2 separate regions of the Homo sapiens genome follow, and region 2 is linked to region 1. Evidence: promoter capture Hi-C in 16 types of primary human blood cells and fetal thymus (Javierre and others, 2016). All regions are on one chromosome and are shown on one strand. Each heading gives the region's core, a stretch centred on a gene start or on the middle of the fragment in contact. The rest is flanking DNA. Distances are from core to core; before and after follow the strand shown.

Region 1 (4,933 bases), core at 1,637-4,136:
CAAATCCTTACTCCACAATAGACTACGTGGAGATCGAGAACTGAGAGTTGATCCCAAGTATAGCTACTCAGGTTGTGATTAGTTTAAACAGATACCAATTCCAGTTAACTTGTGAGCTCTTAGGAGTTCTCAGATAATACATACCTCATTTTTGTCTGCTTACATGAGTGCCCACATAAGAACTGAAAATCTGTTTTTTTTCTTTCTGGGACAGAGTCTCACTCTGTCACCCAGTCTGGAGTGCAGTGGTGCAACCTCGGCTCATTGCGACTTCTGCCTCCCATGTTTAAGTGATTCTCCAGCCTCAGGCTCCCGAGTAGCTGAGATTACAGGCGTATGCCACTACACCCAGATAATTTTTGTATTATTATTATTATTATTATTCTTAATTTTTATTTTTTGAGATGGACTCTAGTTTTGTTGCCCAGGCTGGAGTGCAGTGGCACAATCTCAGCTCACTGCAACCTCCGCCTCCCAGGTTCAAGCGATTCTCCTGAGTTGCTGGGATTATAGCCTCCTGAGTAGCTGGGATTATAGGCGCCCACTACCACACCCGGCTACCTTTTGTATTTTTAGTAGAGACGGGGTTTCACCATGTTGACCAGGCTGGTCTAGAACTCCTGACCTCAAGTGATCAGTTCGCCTCAGCCTCCCAAAGTGCTGGGATTACAGGTGTGAGCCATCGCCCAGTCCCAGAACTAAAAATCTTAAACCCACACTTCTGAATAAGGTTCTCTGTACATCTAGCACATGGCAGGACCTCTAGCAGAAAAGGCAATTTTGGCCTTTTCCTAATCTATAGTCTTAATTATCAACTTGCAATTCATCCTGAAGGTAACCCAGAAATCATTTCATTGTTTGTTCTGCCTTTATATTTCAGGACATTGAACTTGCTTTTCCTTCATTTTTTTCTGGCAGACCTGAAGATCATCCCACAAGGTAGAACAACTCATTTAACCTATTTGACTTGGCCCCAAGTGTAATTTGTACATAGATTAACTATTCTGAAGAATTCCAATAGAACTCCCTGGGGGGAAAACACCCATTTTAATTGGCATACACCAGAGTCACTGGAATCAGTTACTAAATTACAATTTCCTTACAATTTGGAAGGGTTTGGGGATTGTTATTGTTTTCCTGGTAAATTACTGGATCACACTGGTGTCTTGGAATAAGTCAACACATTTTAAATTTAAGTTTCCATAAACTGTAGCTCAACTTCCCAAGTTCCTAGGGGATTTTCACTGGCCCAGACTCAGGAAGAATTTTCTTCTATGGGATCCAAGACTTCAGAGACCAAACATTTCCTGAAGACTTTCCTCTGCTTTCTGACCTCCACCTACCTCCTCCCAAAGACATAACAAAAAAACTATTTGTGATCAGTGCAGGCAGCCAAGAGTGCCCAGTGGGCCTAAGGTACTGGGTAAAGGAACAGGAATCCACAATTCTTTCTTGGTATTAAGGTATCATTGACTTGCCTGATGGCTCGAGTATGTTAACCCCTTGCTTCATGGCTGGAATTTTAATTACCCCTCCTGGAGCTTTTCTGAAGAATTGATTTTGGCGTTTATTCATATTTCAGAAATCAACTCTATCATCAAATAGGAATGATGGTTAATTACAAAACAAAGTCCGCCCAAAGCACCAAATTATCAGACTGTGGCACATCCAGAGGTTTTGAAACTAGTTAGTGCTGCTGCCTCTGCTGGTAGCTTGTTAAAACCTGAACTGGGGCCGGGCGCAGTGGCTCACGCCTGTAATCCCAGCACTTTGGGAGGCCGAGGCGGGCGGATCACGAGGTCAGGAGATCGACACCATCCTGGCTAACACGGTGAAACCCCGTCTCTACTGAAAATACAAAAAAAATTAGCCGGCCGTGGTGGCGGGAGCCTGTAGTCCCAGCTACTCTGAGGCAGGAGAATGGCGTGAATCCGGGAGGCAGAGCTTGCAGTAAGCCAAGATTGCGCCACTGCACTCCAGCCTGGGCGACTCCGTCTCAAAAAACAAACAAACAAACAAAAACACAAAACCTGAACTGGGTGCGTTGGCTAGTGGTTTGGGAACAGAATTTTGGAGCTTTATAGGAGATGTCCTGGTCTGTTATACATCCACTCACCCCAGCCTCCAGGAACTGGGGAGCTGGTAGAGGGGGGTGCCGGCCACTTTGACTGTCGCTGGCCAATCCTGTCTTCTGCATCCCTCCAAGGCTCCATGGGGACATCCAAGGTGAGGTTCCTCCATTCTGCAAAGTTGCAAATGTCTCTGCTCATAATTTCAAAAGTCTTGTCTGAACTAGACTTTCCCTGCTCCCTCGGGGTAGGAATTTTGTCTCCTCTCCATCCTGGCATCTTTACCTCCTCCCCATCCCGGGGCCTGGTCCCCAGCCAGTGGACGCTCTGTTAATATGAACTGGCACTGGTGGGGTGCTCTGGGCACTGGCAAGACAGCTCTTGGCGCTTGTCATCAATTAGCCCAATTCTCACCACTTTTTTCTCCATCCCCGCGTCAGTGGGTGCGTCCCGCAGGTCATGACCCCAAGTTCTAGATGTAAGATTCCTGCCATGTCTCCTTTCCCCCAGAAGACCCCTCCCCGCACTCCCAACCCGACAGGCCCCTAAAGCTGCCTGTGTTCCGTGCCTGCGGCTCCGGACCCCTGGAGTCTGATGCCCGCCTGGGCTCAGGCACGGACGGAGTGGAGCCAGGTGGCAGCAGGCAGGGCGCGCCGCCAGAGTGCCCAGCTCCCGGGGCTGCCCACAGGGTGGGGCCGCCCTCGCCGCCGCTCCCTCTCCGCGCCTTCCCCATCCCCAAAGAGGACACCCCTCCTTCCGCCCGGCCCGCTCCCCACCCCCGCCGCGGCACCGCCTCCCCAGCCGCCCGCCCTTGCCCAGCGCCTCCCAGGCAGCCAGCGAGCGAAGGGAGCGCTCTGGGATGGGACTTGGAGCAAGCGGCGGCGGCGGAGACAGAGGCAGAGGCAGAAGCTGGGGCTCCGTCCTCGCCTCCCACGAGCGATCCCCGAGGAGAGCCGCGGCCCTCGGCGAGGCGAAGAGGCCGACGAGGAAGACCCGGGTGGCTGCGCCCCTGCCTCGCTTCCCAGGCGCCGGCGGCTGCAGGTGAGCGCGGCGCGCTTTCCCCCGGCTCTGCGCGGCCGGGCGGCCTCGAAGTGCAGGCGGACCGACCCACCGACAGAATACCGAGCCTGGGCTGCCCGACGCGCAGGCGCCCTCCCCAGGCCCGCACTGCAGCCCCCAGCGCCCCGGGGCCCCGGCGCCTTCGACCCCTCCGAGGACAGGGGGAGAGGGAGGGCGGCGCTGCCCGACCCCTCGGCCGGGAGAGCTGGGCGCGCTCCCTGCGCAGGACAAGCCGCGCTGCAGCCGCCCCGGAGTGCCCCGTGGGGGCGCTGTGGCACGCAGCGGGGACGCCCAGACCCCGGCCACCGCGACCCAGGGAAAGGGAGACCTGTTGAGCGGGTATGCAGGGTGATTCCTATTCCACGGACAGCCGATGGCTCCCCCTTCCCTCTTCGGAACCTGGTATTTTCATGCCCGTGTCATCTGGATTTTGTTCTTGGGTCTCTATGGCAGCTAAACCTCCAGCTTCCCTATATTGTGGAAGAGGGAGAGAAAGGGGAAGGCATTTTGTGGTAGTTGCTAGAAACCCCAGAACAATTTGGAGCCGTTTGGGGAGAGGACAGAGAAATGGGGACTGTCCCTGGTAGGGTCTCCAGGACTGGGGGCACAGGAAAGTGCTCTCCTCAGGGACACTCGCGCCCACCCTGAACAAACCCAATTGACCAAGTTTCAATTTGTCATAAATCAGGAAGCCACAATGCATCTGCACCAAGCACACTTAAAATCGGCCTTTAAGGAATGGGGCAGTCAAGAGACTTCAGGGACCCGTGGTCGAGAGCAGAGACTGGGGTCAGCCTGCTTGGGTTTCAACCCCAGCTGTGAAGTTTACAGGGTTGATAACTTGAAGGTACCCAAGTATGCCTCAGTTTCCTCATCTGTCTAATGAGGATGGTAATACCCACAGAACTGTGAGGATTAAATGAGATATGGCGGCCGGGCACGGTGGCTCAGGGCTGTCATCCCAGCACTTTGGGAAGCCGGGGCGGGCGGATCACCTGAGGTCGGGAGTTCGAGACCAGCCTGACCAACATGGAGAAACCCCGTCTCTACTAAAAATACAAAATTAGCCGGACTTGGTGGCGCATGCCTGTAATCCCAGCTACTCGGGAGGTTGAGGCAGGAGAATCGGTTGAACCCAGGAGGCAGAGATTGCAGTGAGCGGAGATGGTGCCATTGCACTCCAGCCTGGGCAACAAGAGCTAAACTCCGTCTCAAAAGAAAAAAAAAAAGATATGGCAAGTAAAGTCCTTAGAACATTTCCAGGAGCATTCTAAGATTAGGTGAGTTCCATGGCTTGTCTTTGCAGAAATAGCAAGGAGCTGCTATGAGCAGTGAATGTACCTCTTCCCCAGTTCAGAAAGAGAGGCTCTCCATGGGTACGTGAGGGTGGCAGATAAGCCACGTGTATGCAACTGGTAGTTCCATGCAGGAGTCCACACGGGCGCAGTTCTCCCTGCTTGCTCCCAAAGGGCCAACCTCATAAAACCATGTCAAAATACCAACATGGGTTTATGACCTGGAATGTTTCCTCTCAGTCCCTGAAACTTGGCACTTAGAATCCTCTGTGGAGAATGAGATACTTATGGCTCTTCACCTTGCATTTTCCTATCTGTCCACACTTTTTACTTTTATTTCTGCCAATAGAATTCAATCTCAGGCCCCCGAGTTACCAGGACACTGTCTTCTATAAATCGGGGCTCTGGGGTTTCTTGTTCCCAGGCAACCCAGGGCCACCAAGGCCTAAGCTTGCTTGTTGGAGGTGTCAGAGCAGAGTCCAAATCTGAAACACCCTCGAGCAGCTGTCA
Region 2 (4,976 bases), core at 594-3,093, 200 kb after region 1:
AGACGGCATTTCGCTCTTGTTGCCCAGGCTGGAGTGCAATGGCATGATCTCGGCTCACTGCAACCTCGGCCTCCTGGGTTCAAGTGATTCTACTGCCTCAGCTTCCCGAGTAGCTGGGATTACAGGCATGTGCCACCACACTCGGCTAATTTTGTATTTTTAGTAGAGACAGGGTTTCTCCATGTTGGTCGAACTCCCGCCCTCAGGTGATCCACCCGCCTCAGCCTCCCAAAGTACTGGGATTATAGGCATGAGCCACCACGCGTGGCCTATACTATATATATTATTTAGGGATAGAATAATCCCTTATTATGATTCTAAATATTAGTCTAATCCCTAAATAAGATATATAGTATAATGTGTTATACAAATATTATATATTTATTTTATTTTTTATTTAAAAAATTGAGACAGGGTCTTGCTATGTTGCCCAGGCTGGTCTTGAACTTCCAAGCTCAAGTGATCCTCCCACCTCGGCCTCCCAAAGTGCTGGGATTACAGGTATGAGCCACTGTGCCCAGCCTATGTTATAAATTTAAATCAGACAGCAGCTACTAGTAGGTAGACATTAGGTTGCACAGGAATAATCTATTCTACTGATTATGTGGGGACATTTGCCCTGACCCATTAGACACTGAATCTCACGGAGCTGCTTCCTATCACCTCCCAAGATGACTGACCAGATAGGTGTGTGTGTTTGGGAGAACAGAGGTGAAGACTCTGATTGTTAACAATTATTAGTGCTCCTCACAGCGTAGAACAGTGCCTAATATGTGGTAGTCACACATCGATTTTTATGACGTGCCCTGAAATGTGTGAGGAAAGAGACTTTTCATTCCAAAGGATAATTAGACAGATTGAGTTTGGAATTTCTTGTGTTTTTGGAAGCAAGTTTTAAATATTAGGACAATTTCTGTTGTTTTGAGTGTCCTGAGGATCCGATGCAATCTGAACACAAAGGTTTTATTGACTCCACAGACCTTAATGTGCCTGAAGGTGTCTATAGACGTTCACATCCAAACCCTCCTCCCAGTGTTCCTAGCCCTCTGCTAACATGGATAATCACTGCTCGAATCTTTCCTAATATAAATGGGATCTGTTTTGGCAGACTTCTTTCCAAGGTGTTACAGCCCAAGCACCAAACATGGACAAAGTAAATAGGTGGTAATTATTGACAAGTTCATTGCTAGGTTAATGTGTACATTTCCACTGACAGCTATAATCATTTGTTTGTTCTAACCTGAACTTTCACTAGCTGCTTGCTGTCCATGCGGCCTAGGCAATCAGATGAAGCTTGAATTTCACAGTTATGTGAATTGTTCTTTGTACTGCAGTCATACCTTCAGTTTTCACCCAATATTTCACACTCTGACATCTAGTTAGGTCATCTGGTCCTAACTAGACAAAAGTTTTCCTTTTGAATTGAAGAACAAACATCATAAACATTAAATTTAATTTGTATAGGCTTTTCTTGCATATAGAAATTATATAAATGGGATTTTTTTTCTTTCAAATGTGTGCCTTGTGTCATTTCTGGAGCCTGGCACTTAAATAGCATTTGGTATGTCTTTGTGATAGGCCTGGCGATTGCATATGGCTAATTGAAATGGAATAAAAAAACTACATACATGGTTCAAAAATGTGAAAATATTTGGAAAAGGCAGGTCTGAAAAGTATACCTTCCACCCCATCCTCATCATCTATTTAGTTCGAATCACACCTGTGAATACACACTTATTATTTTAGGGTTTTTTTTTTTATATATTCTTTTGAAGTTTATTTATGCATTGCAAATATTATTTCCTTCTCTCATCTTTATTTATAAAATGTAGTGTACTATACCCACCGTTCCTCACTTTGTTTTTTTCACCTAACACTATGGAGATTTTTCCACATTTATATGCAGAGAACTTCTTTCTCCTTTTTTATACCTGCATAATAATATGTTCCTTGATTTATTTAACCAGCCCCCCTATTGAGGGACATTTAATTTGTTTACAGTCTTTCCCTGTTGCAGACAAGACTGCCATGAATTCCTTTGTGCCTACATCATTTTGAATGTGTGCAAGTATATCTGTAGGACAGTTTCCCAGGAGTGGCATTACTAGGTCAAAGGGTGTACGCACTGAAAGTTTTGATAGATAACTGCCTAAATGTGTTCTGTAAGACTTGAAGCAGTTTACACTGTCATCAACAATAAAGTAAATCTTTTTCTAAAACAGAAAACTTTCAGACATTTGTGCAGCCACATCGAAACATACACATGGGACAGAAGTCAGGAGATAAGGAGGGAGCATGCACTTGGTTTCAGGTGCTTTAGTTTGTGATCTTATTTAATCCTCACAATAGCCTTAAAACACAAACATTAATTGCACCAAATACAGCTAGAAAACGAAGCTTAATACAGATAAGTCACTTGCCCTGGTCTCAGAGCTAGTAGGTCTAGTAAGCCTACTTACTAGATGGATGGATGGACCTGGGGCACATGGCTAATGTGTGTGACTCCAAAGCCCCTGTTCTTTTCACAACTTCCAGTTCCATCTGGGATCTGGTCCTAGTTCTGCAAGAAACTTGTAGTGTGGCCTTACACATAGAACATATGCAATCAGCTGAGTGTGGACGCTCGAGCCTGTAATCCCAGCTACTTGGGAGGCCGTAGTGGGAGAATCAGGAGGTCAAGCACCACTGTACTCCAGCCTGGGCAACACAGTGAGACTTCTCTCTAAAGAAAAGAAAAAAGAGGCCGGGCGCAGTGGCTTACCCCTGTAATCCCAGCACTTTGGGAGGCTAAGGTGGGCAGATCACCTGAGGTTGGGAGTTCGAGACCAGCCTGACCAACATGGAGAAACCCCATCTCTACTAAAAATACAAAAAATTAGCCAGGTGTGGTGGCTAATTTTTTACTGGTATGCTGATGCCTGTAATCCCAGCTACTCTGGAGGCTGAGGCAGGAGAATCGCTTGAACCAGTGAGCCAAGATCGCGCCATTGCACTCCAGCCTGGGCAACAAGAGTGAAACTGCATCTCAAAAAAAAAAAAAAAAAAAAAAGAAAAGAAAAGAAAAAGAAAAGAGAATGAAAGAAAAGAAAAAAAAGCAAGCAATAACTGTTGAGTAGATGGATGGGTGAATGGGTGATTGACAGAGACGGGGATTCAGGGAGGTAAGAGTATTACTCAGAAAAGCAGAGGAGGAATCAGAACCTAATGAATACCAGAAACTGAAAGGTAATATTGGCCAAGATGGGCTTAGAAAGAGTGTCGGGTTGTGTATAGAGCCTCCTAGCTATGCAGGAAAAGGTTAGCACTGTAAAACAACGCTTGATTGTCTGCCATTAAATCATGCTTCTGGGCTGAGTGCAGTGGCTCATGCCTGTAATCCCAGCACTGTGGGAGGCCGAGGCAGGTGGATCACCTGAGGTCAGGAGTTCAAGACCAGCCTGGCCAACATGGTGAAACCCCGTCTCTACTAAAAATACAAAAATTTTCTGGACGTGGTGGCAGCTGGTGGTAGCTAGGACCCGTAATCCCAGCTACTCGGGAAGCCGAGGCAGGCGAATTTCTTGAACCTGGGAGGTGGAGGTTGCAGTGGGCAGAGATCACGCCATTGCACTCCAGCTTGGGTGACAAGAGCAAAACTCCCTCTCAAAAAAAAAGAAAAAATCATGCTTCTGTAAGGTGGCCCCACAACCAGCTCATGTGTACAGTTTCACTTCTATGTTAATGTTTTACAATATCAAGTTGAAAGAAACCCTGAATACGTGTGGGGGTTAATGAAAGTCTCACCAAAGCTGATAAAAACTTGATGAGGCTTCTAATCCTAGAGTGTGTGTGAGTAGTACTAGGTAATTTTTTTTTCTTTTTTAGAGACAGGGTCTTGCTCTGTTGCCGAGGCTGGAGTGCAATGGTGCAATCATAGCTCACGGCAGCTTGGACTCCTGGACCCAAATTATCCTTCCACCTCAGCCTCCTAAGGTGCTGGGATTACAGGCATGACCCACTGTGCCCCACTGTAATTTTTTTTTAAAGCAAAGTGCCAGACTATAGCTCTCCAGGTGTGTTTATGTCTTGAAAGTCCTGTAATGACTTCAGAAGCTTCTTCACCCATCTCAGGGCTATTGCTGTTTTTCACAGTCCTTGAACCACTTCTTGGGAATTGCCTTCGGGCTCTCAAGTTCATTCATTGTATATAATCAAGGGTGTCTGAGCTTTGTCCTTTAAGGATGAATATTGAAAAAAACAACAATCCACATTGTTTTTATTTTATTTTTTAAGTTTTATTTTATTTTTTTTTTTTGGTAGAGACTGGTTCTCACTATGCTGCCCAGGCTGGTCTCAAACTCCAGGCTTCAAGCAACCCTAATACCTCAGTCAGCCTCCCAAAGTGCTGGGATTACAGGCATGAACTACCGTGCCCAGCCCCACATGGTTTTTAGCAGCTAAAACCCCCTAGGAATTAAACCTTATGAAGGTGGGTGAAATAAGACAGTCAATGCTGGAGTGCATGATTTAGTACTACCTAAGTTGTTTATATCAGAGTTTCCCAGCCTGTGAGAATGGTTTATAGCCATGCCAGCATTTCTCCTAGCCTTTAGGGCAGCCAGGTGGGATCCTGACAGCCTGAGCCATCTGGAAGCAGCTTCCTCCATTTGTTGAAGTGTGATGCACAAATATCATATTCTGTGTATGTCATGACATTGAAAAGGATCAGGAAGTGTTGGTGGCCGGGTGCAGTGGCTCATGCCTGTGAGCACAGCACTTTGGGAGGCCAAGGCAGGAGGATCACCTGAGGTCAGGAGTTGGAGACCAGCTTGGCCAACATGGTGAAACCCCATCTCTACTAAAAATACAAAATAAATTAGCTAGGCATGGTGGCACACGCTTGTTGTCCCAGCTACTCAGGAGGCTGAGGCGGGAAAATCACTTGAACCTGGGAGGTAGAGGTTGCAGTGAACCGAGGTTGTGCCACTGCACTGCAG

What was found. The method cuts DNA at HindIII sites, captures the fragments that hold promoters and counts their contacts. A CHiCAGO score of 5 or more calls a contact.
Region 2: a fragment that was not itself captured here is called in contact with the fragment with the promoter of MATN2 in region 1 in 2 of 17 cell types (megakaryocytes and endothelial precursors); the score reaches 7.5 in megakaryocytes.

Annotation. Positions count from the first base shown.
Region 1 is chr8:97,866,178-97,871,110 of GRCh38, forward strand. It overlaps MATN2 (matrilin 2), which reads left to right and starts at 2,887. Exons shown (of 19, transcript NM_002380.5): 1 at 2,887-3,110. RefSeq lists an enhancer at 1,988-2,487. The HindIII fragment of the contact is 10,066 bases long and covers 1-4,871 here.
Region 2 is chr8:98,067,634-98,072,609 of GRCh38, forward strand. All of the region lies in intron 1 of ERICH5 (glutamate rich 5), which reads left to right. Among named protein-coding and RNA genes, the nearest start is that of ERICH5, 5.6 kb to the left of the region's middle. RefSeq lists a silencer at 3,134-3,243. The HindIII fragment of the contact is 1,104 bases long and covers 1,292-2,395 here.